Regions from separate parts of the Homo sapiens genome. Here region 2 is linked to region 1. Evidence: promoter capture Hi-C in human tissues and cell types (Jung and others, 2019). All regions are on one chromosome and are shown on one strand. Each heading gives the region's core, a stretch centred on a gene start or on the middle of the fragment in contact. The rest is flanking DNA. Distances are from core to core; before and after follow the strand shown. Region 1 holds the start of CREBL2 (cAMP responsive element binding protein like 2). Region 2 overlaps DUSP16 (dual specificity phosphatase 16).

Evidence for each region. The method cuts DNA at HindIII sites, captures the fragments that hold promoters and counts their contacts. A contact is called where the count stands out against the background at its distance.
Region 2: a contact is called between a fragment that was not itself captured here and the fragment with the promoter of CREBL2 in region 1, in 4 of the 25 tissues and cell types used here (adrenal gland, hippocampus, mesendoderm cells and 1 more).

What each region holds. Positions count from the first base shown.
Region 1 is chr12:12,609,394-12,614,374 of GRCh38, reverse strand. It overlaps CREBL2 (cAMP responsive element binding protein like 2), which reads right to left and starts at 2,499. Exons shown (of 4, transcript NM_001310.4): 1 at 2,188-2,499. The coding sequence starts at 2,202. RefSeq lists a silencer at 2,146-2,445 and enhancers at 2,606-2,655, 2,706-2,785, 2,379-3,130. The HindIII fragment of the contact is 23,854 bases long and covers 1-4,981 here.
Region 2 is chr12:12,509,480-12,514,666 of GRCh38, reverse strand. All of the region lies in intron 3 of DUSP16 (dual specificity phosphatase 16), which reads left to right. Among named protein-coding and RNA genes, the nearest start is that of DUSP16, 51 kb to the left of the region's middle. The HindIII fragment of the contact is 5,128 bases long and covers 1,095-5,187 here.

The DNA.
Region 1 (4,981 bases), core at 1,250-3,749:
TGAATTCGTGGCATAATAGGGGTAAAAAAGACAAAAGGTGTAAAAACGTTTATCTTCATTGAGTAGAAGTGTGATGTCCTGGCCGGGCGCAGTGGCTCACACCTGTATTCCTAGCACTTTGGGAGGCTGAGGTGGGCGGATCACCTGAGGTCACTCGAGTTTGAGACCAGCCTGATCAACATGGTGAAACCCTGTCTCTACGAAAAATAAAAATTTAGCTGGATGTGGTGGCACACGCCTGTAGTCCCAGCTACTCAGGAGGCTGAGGCAGGAGAATTGCTTGAACCCAAGAGCAATTCTCGGCAGTGAGCCGAGATCGTGCCACTGTACTCCAGCCTGGGCGATACAGCGGAGACTCCGTCTCAAAAAAAAAAAAAAAAAAAAGAAAAAAAAGAAAAAAGAAAGAAGTGTGATGTCCCCTCCCCAAAGAAATATTCAAAGCAAAAAAAAAAAAAAATTACTTGCTGATTTTTCTGGAAAACTTTTAGAACGCTACCCTTCTGTCTTGGAAATACCACTTCCCCAATATCATACCCCACGAATGTTACTATAGTAAAACTGAAGAGTCTACAATGTTATCCCGCATTCTGTTGCATTGTTGTAAACAAACAAGGGCAAGATTCTTGTCAAGGGAATTAATGTGTGTACTGAGCATATTAAGCACTCTTATGAGCTGATAGCTTCCTGAAACTCGCCCCCCTTCTGTCTTGGAAATACCACTTCCTATTAAGAGGGGTTTACTACTTCACAAGCAATCCGTTCCTCTAGGTGAGTAACAATTCCAGAGTACTGCACTGGGCTTTCCCTTCCATCTGTCACTTCCTCACAGCCTTCTACATGAAGAGGAAGAGAAAACAAGAAGGAAAGAATAAAACAAGGAACACAGAGAAGTTGGAAATTTTTTGAATCTCTCTGAGGATATGTGAAACAAAAACTGCAGCAGCAGCAAAAAAAGACACCCAAACAAAGGACAAAGCTATCGTAAAGAGTATGCCAAAGACTGTGAAACAGAAGACGCTGAGAAGCACAAAGAAGGACGGTTTTTACTTTAAAAACTGGCAAATTTTAGAAGTCTGATTCCTTAAAATAAAAAAGTCCAAATCCAAAACAACCTGAAACATCAATAAACAAATCTTTGACCATCCCTATCTTCAGGAAATAAAACTAAACAACACTAATGTGGGTAGATGTAAAGAGAGAAAGGCGGCCAGGCGCGGTGGCTCACGCCTGTAATCCCAGCACTTTGGGAGGCCGAGGCGAGCGGACACCTAAGATTGGGAGTTCGAGACCAGCCTGACCAACATGGAGAAACCCCATCTCTACCAAAAATACAAAATTAGCCGGGCATGGTGGTGCATGCCTGTAATCCCAGCTGCTCGGGAGGCTGAGGCAGGAGAATCGCTTGAACCCGGGAGGCGGAGGTTGTGGTGAGCCGAGATCGCGCCATTGCACTCCAGCCTGGGCGACAAGAGCGAAACTCCGTCTCAATTAATAAATAAAGACAAAAAGGCTATACATAGATAAACTATTTGGATTAACCAATAATGAACATTATCTATTATTTTATAATCATAAAGTAAGTGATTTGGACAGGGAAATTGGATGGTGATGGGCTATTAAAGTTAACAAGAGGAAAATCAGTATTTTTTTAGAGAAGGCTTTCTAGTGGAGGTTAAACTCCACACTGGCCAAATAGCAACAGGAGCTTAGCGGTGTTCCAACCAACCACAGGAAATAGCTCAGAGGGGGAGTGAACTGATTATATGAATGGGGCATTGAGTAAGGGAGCCTGAGAGAAGGGGAATCGTCAAGGGGAATAAGGCTGGTTCAGCGTGCACTAAAGTCTCCAAACTGGAGAGAGGAGGCAGCAAAAAAGTGCAAGAAGAAAAAGTACAGTAGTTTCTTATCTCGACAGGCAAGTTAAGGACTAGGGGTTGCACTACCTGGAAAGCTAGCAAACGCCCTGGGAGTGAAAAATTTCCAGAGAGGGCCCTTCCTGGAAAAACGCAGCCCCGGTGTTCCCTGATTTCCTGGCTGGGTACCATCGGGCAGTGGACTGGAGAGGCGCAGGGATGTTTTAGGCAGGTGTCTCTTGGGTGTTGGCGTGGACTACATAGCGGAGGTTCAGCCGCGGGACTAGCATTGAGCGACAAGAAGGCGGCGGCGCGTGCAAACCACAAGACTTACCTTACTGTCATCCATCGCGGCAGACAGGCCGGCCTGGCCAGGCACTCCCTCCCGGAGCCCTCCCCCGGCTCAGCCGGCCTGGCCCGGCCCCCGCCCCGAGGAAGAAGGGGATATGGTTCTGGCTGCCTCCTCCTCTCGCCTAACAGTTCGCTTCCCTGATGCCAGAGTCACGGGGACGAGGGACCAGTTCAGGAATGGCAGAGCGGACCCTGGAGGCGGCCCCAAACGCCTCCCTTCGCCGCCGCCGCCTCCTCCTCCCCCTCCATGACAGTCTCTGGGTGTTTACAGACGCTCTGGAGAGCCGCCGAGACCGGAGGGTGGGCGGGAGCGCTGCACACGGAATGGCCCCTTCGGCTGCCGTAGCACCGCGGCATTCTGGGAATTGTGATTTTTCTTATCACAGTCTCTGCGCTACTGACTGGAAAAAAAACTACGATGTCCACATAGCCTCATTAAGGGGCAGCTGTTTTCCTTTTGCCTACTAGCTAGCGCTGAGGAGGCGGGGCTGGGCTGGAGGCCCAAAGTGCGCCTGACCTGAGGTTTTGGCTCCTAAGTGCCAGGGCCTGGAATGGCGGGGACGGGAGTTTGGTGCTCTGCGGAGGCAGCCCTGAAGGCGGGGTGCCGGAAGCAGGCCCTCCTCTGGGACGCTGAGGAAACCCTAAAGGTTCTTTATTTAAAAAAAAACGAAAAACAAAAACTAAGTATGTAAAATAGTGCAGCTACTTTGGGAAGAAATTTGGCAGTTCTTCAGAATATTGGCCACTCCCATACCCAAGAGAAATTAAAACGAGTGACTACACAAAAACTTGTATATAAATGTTCTTTCCTAGCAGCATTATTCATAATAGTCAAAAAGTGGAAACAACGCAAATGTCCTTTACTGGATGAATGGATAAACCAGTGTGGACTATACAAATTAAGAAATACTGGCCAGGGGTGGTGGGTCACGCCTGTAATCCCAGCACGTTGGGAGGCCGAGGCGGGAGGATTGCTTTAGCCCAAGAGTTCGAGACCAGCCTGGGCAACATAGCAAAACCTGTCTCTACAAAAAAATACAAAAATTAGTCGAGTGTGGTGGCACATGCCTGTAATCCCAGTTACTGGGGAGGCTGACATGAGAGGATCACTTGGGCCTGGGAGGCAGAGGCTGCAATAAGCCAAGATTGTACCACTGCACTCCAGCCTGGGCGACAGAGCCAGACACTGTATTTAAAAAAAAAAAAAAGAAGAAGAAGAATGAAAGAAGGAAGAAGAACGATGAAGGAAGAAGAAGGAGAAGAAGGAAGAAGAAAGAAGAAGGAAGAAGACCCATATAGTAAGATGCAGTCTCTACAAAAAAAATTAAAAATTAGTTGGGTGTGTTACAAAAAATTTAAAAATTACTTGGGTGTGGTGGTGGTGCTTGTAGTCCTAGCCACTCGGGAGGCCCAGGTGGGAGGATCGTTTGAGCCCTGGAGTTGGAGGCTGAAGTGAGCTGTGATCACGGCACTCCAGCCTGGGCAACAGAGCAAGACTCTGTCTCAAAAAAAAAGGAAAGAAATATTATTCAGCAATGAAAAAAAATGAAGGGATATACACACTTCAATATGTCTGAACCTTGAAAACTTTATGTGAAGTGAAAAAAGCCAGACACAATAGGCCACATATTGTATGATTCCATTTATAATGAAGTGTCTGGAACAGGCACATCTAAATAGACCAAAAAATCCATTAGTGGTTGCCAAGGGCTAGGGTTGAAGAATGGCAGGGATGGAGGGATCCTGGAAAGGAGAGTGACGGTTAATGAGTACTGGGTTTCTTTTTGAGGTGATGAAAATGATCTAAAATTCAGCCGGGCATGGTGGCTCACGCCTGTAATCCCAGCACTTTGGGAGGCCGAGGTGGGCTGATCACCTGAGGTCAGGAGTTCGAGACCAGCCTGACCAACATGGAGAAACCCATCTCTACTAAAAATACAAAGTTGGCCAGGCCTGGGAGAGCATACCTGTAATCCCAGCTACGTGGGAGGCTGAGGCAGGAGAATGGCTTAAACCCAGGAGGCGGAGGTTGCAGTGAGTTGAGACCGTGCCATTGCACTCCAGCCTGAGCAACAAGAGCGAAACTCCGACTCAAAAAAAAAAAAAAAAAAAAAGAAGAAAAGAAAATTATCTAAAATTGATTTTGGTGATGGTTGCACATCCTGTGAATATATTAAAAACCACTAAATTGTAGTTTAACTGTAGTTAAACCACTTTAAATGAGTGGATTATATCTCAATAAAGTTATTTTAAAAATAACTGGCTGTGTCCTCATTTAATAAAGTCAGTGAGCTTGTTTTTACTGTTGTTTTTGTTTTGGCCTACCTCGGGCCTTTGAGAACTTGACAAAGATTGCATATTTGTCAATGCTGCTCCTGAAGAGCCCTTTGGCTCACACCTTTTCAAAGACTCACAAAGTGCTTTCTCAACCCTTGCAAAATCCAACTGAGGTAGAGTTCTCAGATTTAGCAATATAGACACAGAATACTCAATTACATTCGAATTTCAGATAAACCGCAAATACTCTTTTAGGAAAGTGTGTCCCATGCAACTTTTTTTTTTTTTTTTGAGACAGAGTTTCGCTCTGTCACCCAGGCTGGAGTGCAGTGGTGCAATCTCGGCTCATTACAGCCTCTGCCTCCCAGGTTCATGCCATTCTCCTGCCTCAGCCTCCCGAGTAGCTGGGACTACAGGCGCCCACCACCACGCCCAGCTAATTTTTGTATTTTTAGTACAGACTGGGTTTCACCGTGTTATCTAGGATGGTCTCTATCTCC
Region 2 (5,187 bases), core at 2,409-4,908, 100 kb after region 1:
TACACAAGGTAGAGCTAGAGAGAGGTAGTGCCATGCTCTATGCCATGTGCCGGGCCTGTTCTTGTTTTTTCTCCTGCAGATGTAAGATTTAAGATTGAGGGGAAGGGGAGAGATGGGGATTGGAGAATCCAAAAAAGGAACCATTTTCAAGGGTTGGTAATATCTTTCGTGTTACTGCTAAACTTTAGATATTGACTAAAGAAAAAGGATCAGAAAAGAGCAGGAGGAAGAAAAACTAGGTCCTAGTGGTAAAGGTATTACCTGAGCACAGGCTCTGTATCTGCATCTGCAGAAGGTTTCAGGGTCTTCTGATCAACTCAGTGCCATGCCCACACCCATTCCCTAGGTGATCTAACATCTGCATTGAGGAAATCCCTTTAAGCTGGAAAGAACAATGGACTAGGGGTCAAAGCTGTAGCCTGTGTTTTCTGTGTGTGTCTCTGCTCCTTATGGCAACTTTGGATAAGTCATTTAACCTGAATTATCTTGTATTTTTTCAGCTCCTAAAAAGAGATAATAACGCTTGCCTTATTATGAGGATTGTATTAGACAATGGATGTGAAATTTCTGTATCAATAGTCTAAAAGACTATCCTTCAAAAAAAAATAAGAAACTTATCAGTATGAGTTTGAAAACCCAAAAAATCAGTTGCCAACATTGATTTATTGAGCAACTTTTTTGGTGTTTTCAACAACCTGCAGAAAACTAGTTCTCTGAAAAATAAACTTGTTTCTTGGCTTTTACTTATTCACTATGTATCAGTTTATTCTACTTGTCTATTTCTAAGAGCGCCAGATTAGAAGTAAATATATGTGAAAAAAAGGAAAACTATTGAATTTGGGCTTTTATTTTATGCTGACATATGGAAAAGAGAGTAAATGGGTTAATTTAGTAGAAATAAAGATCAACCTGCATGTGAAAAATGCTGTTCTACTATGTCCTTCTCTTTCCCCAGTACAGCCTGAGTAAAAGCAAAAGGGCTCTGCCAGGCTTATTAATTCCACAGCACTCCCTTCTGTCCTGTGATGCAGCACAGAATAACCCTACAGCGATTGCGGGAGAAAACCATAAATGAACCACAGACTTCAGCCCTTTCATTTACAAATGAGGAAAATAACAGAGCTGCTGAGTGACTCTCCCAAGCTCTTGCTGCCCAAGGCCCACATCCACAAGTAATTCCAGAGTCTTCTGGAATTTTGTCAGGAGGCTAGATTGGGAATCAAGGGTGCCCATTTCAGATCAGGCTTATTCTGAAAGGCTCTTTTTGTAATAGCTCTTTCTCAGTCTTTTTGAGAATTTCAGTCATATTCTTCATACTTTATAGAATATAGCAATCTATAAAAATACACTGTATATAAATTGTTTTAAAGCATTAAACTATGTTAGCCAGAAGAGATCATCAAGTAAAAGTCTACTCTGTTTTATGCTGGTGTATAGCTGTGAATAAGGATAGAAGATACCATTTATTAAGAACACAGCAAAGGTCTTCGATTAATGTTTGCTATGGTTAAAGGCCAAATACTCATTTCTTCGTTTTGAGTTGAACTTAACTATTGTAGTTAGACCTACGAGTGAACAAAAATGTATTAGACTCTACACATTTTCAATTTAATAAGGATCTAGATTCTGATGACAGTTCTGTGTAATAAATGTATACTTTTGGTTTAATAGAATTGATTACTGTCCTTCCTCATGGAGGTATGATAGAACCTGATCTTCCTGGTTATGGATTTTGCTCTTTGTGCTATTACCATAAATTCTGTTATCTAGTTTGGTGTTTCTTCTCCTTTGTCTGGAGAAGGGAAATCTTCAGTAATTCCATTTCGAATCCTGTAGAACTTGGTAAATGAGATTGAAATTAATGGATTTCAGTAAAAGTATGCCAATTATTAAGGAACTGGCTGCTCTTGGGTCTAAAAAACTACAGTGACTGAGAGTCACTGAAAACAGACTAAAAATAGATGCTGTATGCACACATACACACACAATGGAATATTCAGCCTTAAAAAAGAAGGAAATCCTACCATTTTGCAACAATATGGGTGAACCTGGAGGACATTATGCTAATTGAAATAAGCCAGACACAGAAAGACAAATACTGCATGGTATCACATGTGGATCTAAAAGAGTCAAACTCATGAAAACAGTAGAACGGTGGTTACCAGGGGCTGGAGGGCTGGGGTAATGGGGAGATGCTGCTTAAAGAGTACAGACTTTCAGTGATATGATGAGTAAGTTCTAGAGACCTATTGTACAGCATGGTGACTACGGTTGACAATAAACGTACCATATACTTCAAATTTGCTGAAAGAGTAGATCTTAAGTGTTCTCACCACAACAAAAAGAGCATGGCTATGTGAGGTAAGGTAGTCATTCCAAGTGTATATGTATATCACATCATCATGCTGTACACCTTAAACAGATAAAATTTTTGTTTGTTAATCATACTTCAATAAAGCTGGGGAAAAAGGTGCTGTTTGCTCACTGGCTGCTGTGTATTTCTGGCTCTGTTTCTGAGTCTCAGTTGGCATGAATTCGTCTAAATTGGATCATCTTTTCTCCGATTGCTATCTGCCAGTGTGGAGAGTCAGTCATGTCTCTTCCCAGCTACCAGTGGCTAAGACACATGCTTGAGATTGTCTTTTGAAACAAACAGACTAGAGAGCCAACTAAAGCTTAAAGATAGTCCTTTGGTTCCCCATCCTGATATTGTGCACAAACCAAACAAAAGCATCCCAGATGACAACAGTGACATCAATCTTCCCTTGCCCCAGGTGGGGCAGCTGTGTAGTCTAGAGAAACACCAGGTCCAGCATATTCTTCAGCCCTTTCACTCACTCAGCCTCTCAATATTTGATGGGTGCCTCCATGGCTGTGCCTTGGACTGGGCTCTCGGGGGTGAAGATATTGGAAAAGCAAAAGGCTTGCCCCTGCCTTTGAGAATGTAGTGGTTAATTTGGGGAAATGCACCTAAAGTGGATGAAAGAAAGAGAAGTATATGATCATTTGCTAAAATGTATGATACAGTGATAAGGGATGATTCAGAGTAGTCTGCAGAAGTCAGGGAAGACTTGATTAGGGCAGTGGAATTTTAATCAAACCTTGAAAGATGAGGAGTAAGATTTGGGTAGGGAGGGTTCTGCGCATTCTGAGGGGGAAAGAACATGATTAAAAATGTCAGGAATGAACATAGATTTGGAGGGGCAGTGAGCAGACCAGAGTGGATTTTTTGTGAAGGAGAGAAATGGGAATTGAGAGGACATGAGATCAAATTATGTAAGCTCTTTAAATCAGAAGGAAGAATTTGTACTTTAAGGTGATGGGTATTGTGAGCTATTGGAGATATGGCTGCAATACCTGTCATCTCTTAGTCACCAGATCTTTCTTCCAACCTCTTCGGTCTGTCTGGTTTTCTGGTCTTCTGCTACCATGAAGTCAGTTGAATGTTATTCCTCCCCCAGGTTGCTCCAGGAGCCTCTTAACTGATCTGTTCACATGCTCTGTCTTGCCACCTTCCAATCCATTGCTCACACTGCAGCCAAAGTTACATTTTTATTTTGTGTTTTTAACTAATTCAGATTACATCACTTCCCAGTTTAATATGCATCAATAATATGCAGTGCTCTTAAGATAAGTTACAAAATTTTTAACTGATTCACAAGGCCCTGCAGTGGCTGGCTTCTGCCTACCTTGCTAACTTCATCCAGTGCCACTTTAAGTCCTCAGTTGTTGTTTTGCCTCAGCTCCTTAGGCCTCCTCCCTGTTGCTCTAAACCTAAGACATCATGCACCCTGGGCCTTCACAGAGGCTCTGTCCTCTGCCCTGGGCTCTTCTCTCTGCTATTTACCTAGTTGTTTTCCTGCTAGATTCAATGTGGTTGTCAAGCCTTCCCTAGCTACCAGGCAAAGTTGGTTTCCATATGCCTTTGGCCACTTACCATAATTAGTTAATTATTCATCTAATTATTTGGTTAAAGTTTATCCCATAAAACTGTCAACTCCAGAGAAGGCTCTCTGTCTTGGTCACCACTGTTCCATTACCTAGCGCTATGTCAAACTCATAGTAGGTGCTATTAAGTGTTTTTTGAACTTATATGTGAAACGCAGTTATCCCTTTCTCCCTCACTGCTCTATGACGTCTCTTGTCAAAATGTGTAGTTGGCCAAAGAGGAGGACTGTACACAGAGTGGAATATACAGAAGTGGTCTTAGGGGAGAGCCTGTGGCTAGATGGCTTAGAAAGCTTTGCGCTTCACATGGATAGCCTGAGAAGTGAGCTGTATAGTGTGATTCATGGACAGTTTACAAGTTAGTCAGATTTTATTCTTGAATAATTCTCCAGACACTAGACTTGTATTCCTTTTTCCTCTTGACTCATCAAGTTTCCCCTATGGATAATCTCATTTCATTATCCATTTTGATGATGATTATAGACATGTCCAGCAGCCACACCATCCTCATCTGGGGTATAATCATAGTTGGTGTCTCATTGGTTTCCTATGGGATGTGCCCTGATTCCCTGAGCCATGGAGATATATTACGGGACTCTCCACACCGGTGTGGAGTCCTGCGCCATTTAGGGGCATCAGAAAAAATTTTCTTTCCCTTTTATGTAAAGTCCTGTGGATACAGCAGAATCATAGTAAGGATTCAGTGTCGCTTTTGGATAACCAAAGTGACACTCGCCAATTTTATCTTTTTTCCTGTAGTAGAAGAAAAAATGTTTTTTTCTTGCCCTGTGCCTCCTCACTCACCCTGAGAGTCTTCTGGGGCATTGTGGTCTAGGAATAGGAAGCAGATTTTGTGCCCCCACCCACACCAACTAGCTTTTGGCTTTGAATGGAATCAGGAAATCCTTCGGAACACCAAAAATATACAAGACTTATGTCCATCAACAGCTATTCATTGTAACAAGGAAGGATTCAATAAACATTTATTGAATTCTAATTATGTGCCAGGCACTATGCTAAATGCTGAGGTAATTACAAAGAATTATGGATAATTCTTATCCATAAGCAGCTCACAATAGCTGGAGAAGTAAGACGGGTCACAACACATACACAGTTATTTCACAGTTACTAGGTCAGTGGTAGGTACTGCCAAATGATTGGTATAAATTTTATAGAGCCTCTAAGCTGGACCATGTCTAGATACGCTGCTCAAGGAAGTTTGTTTTTTTTTTTTCTTTA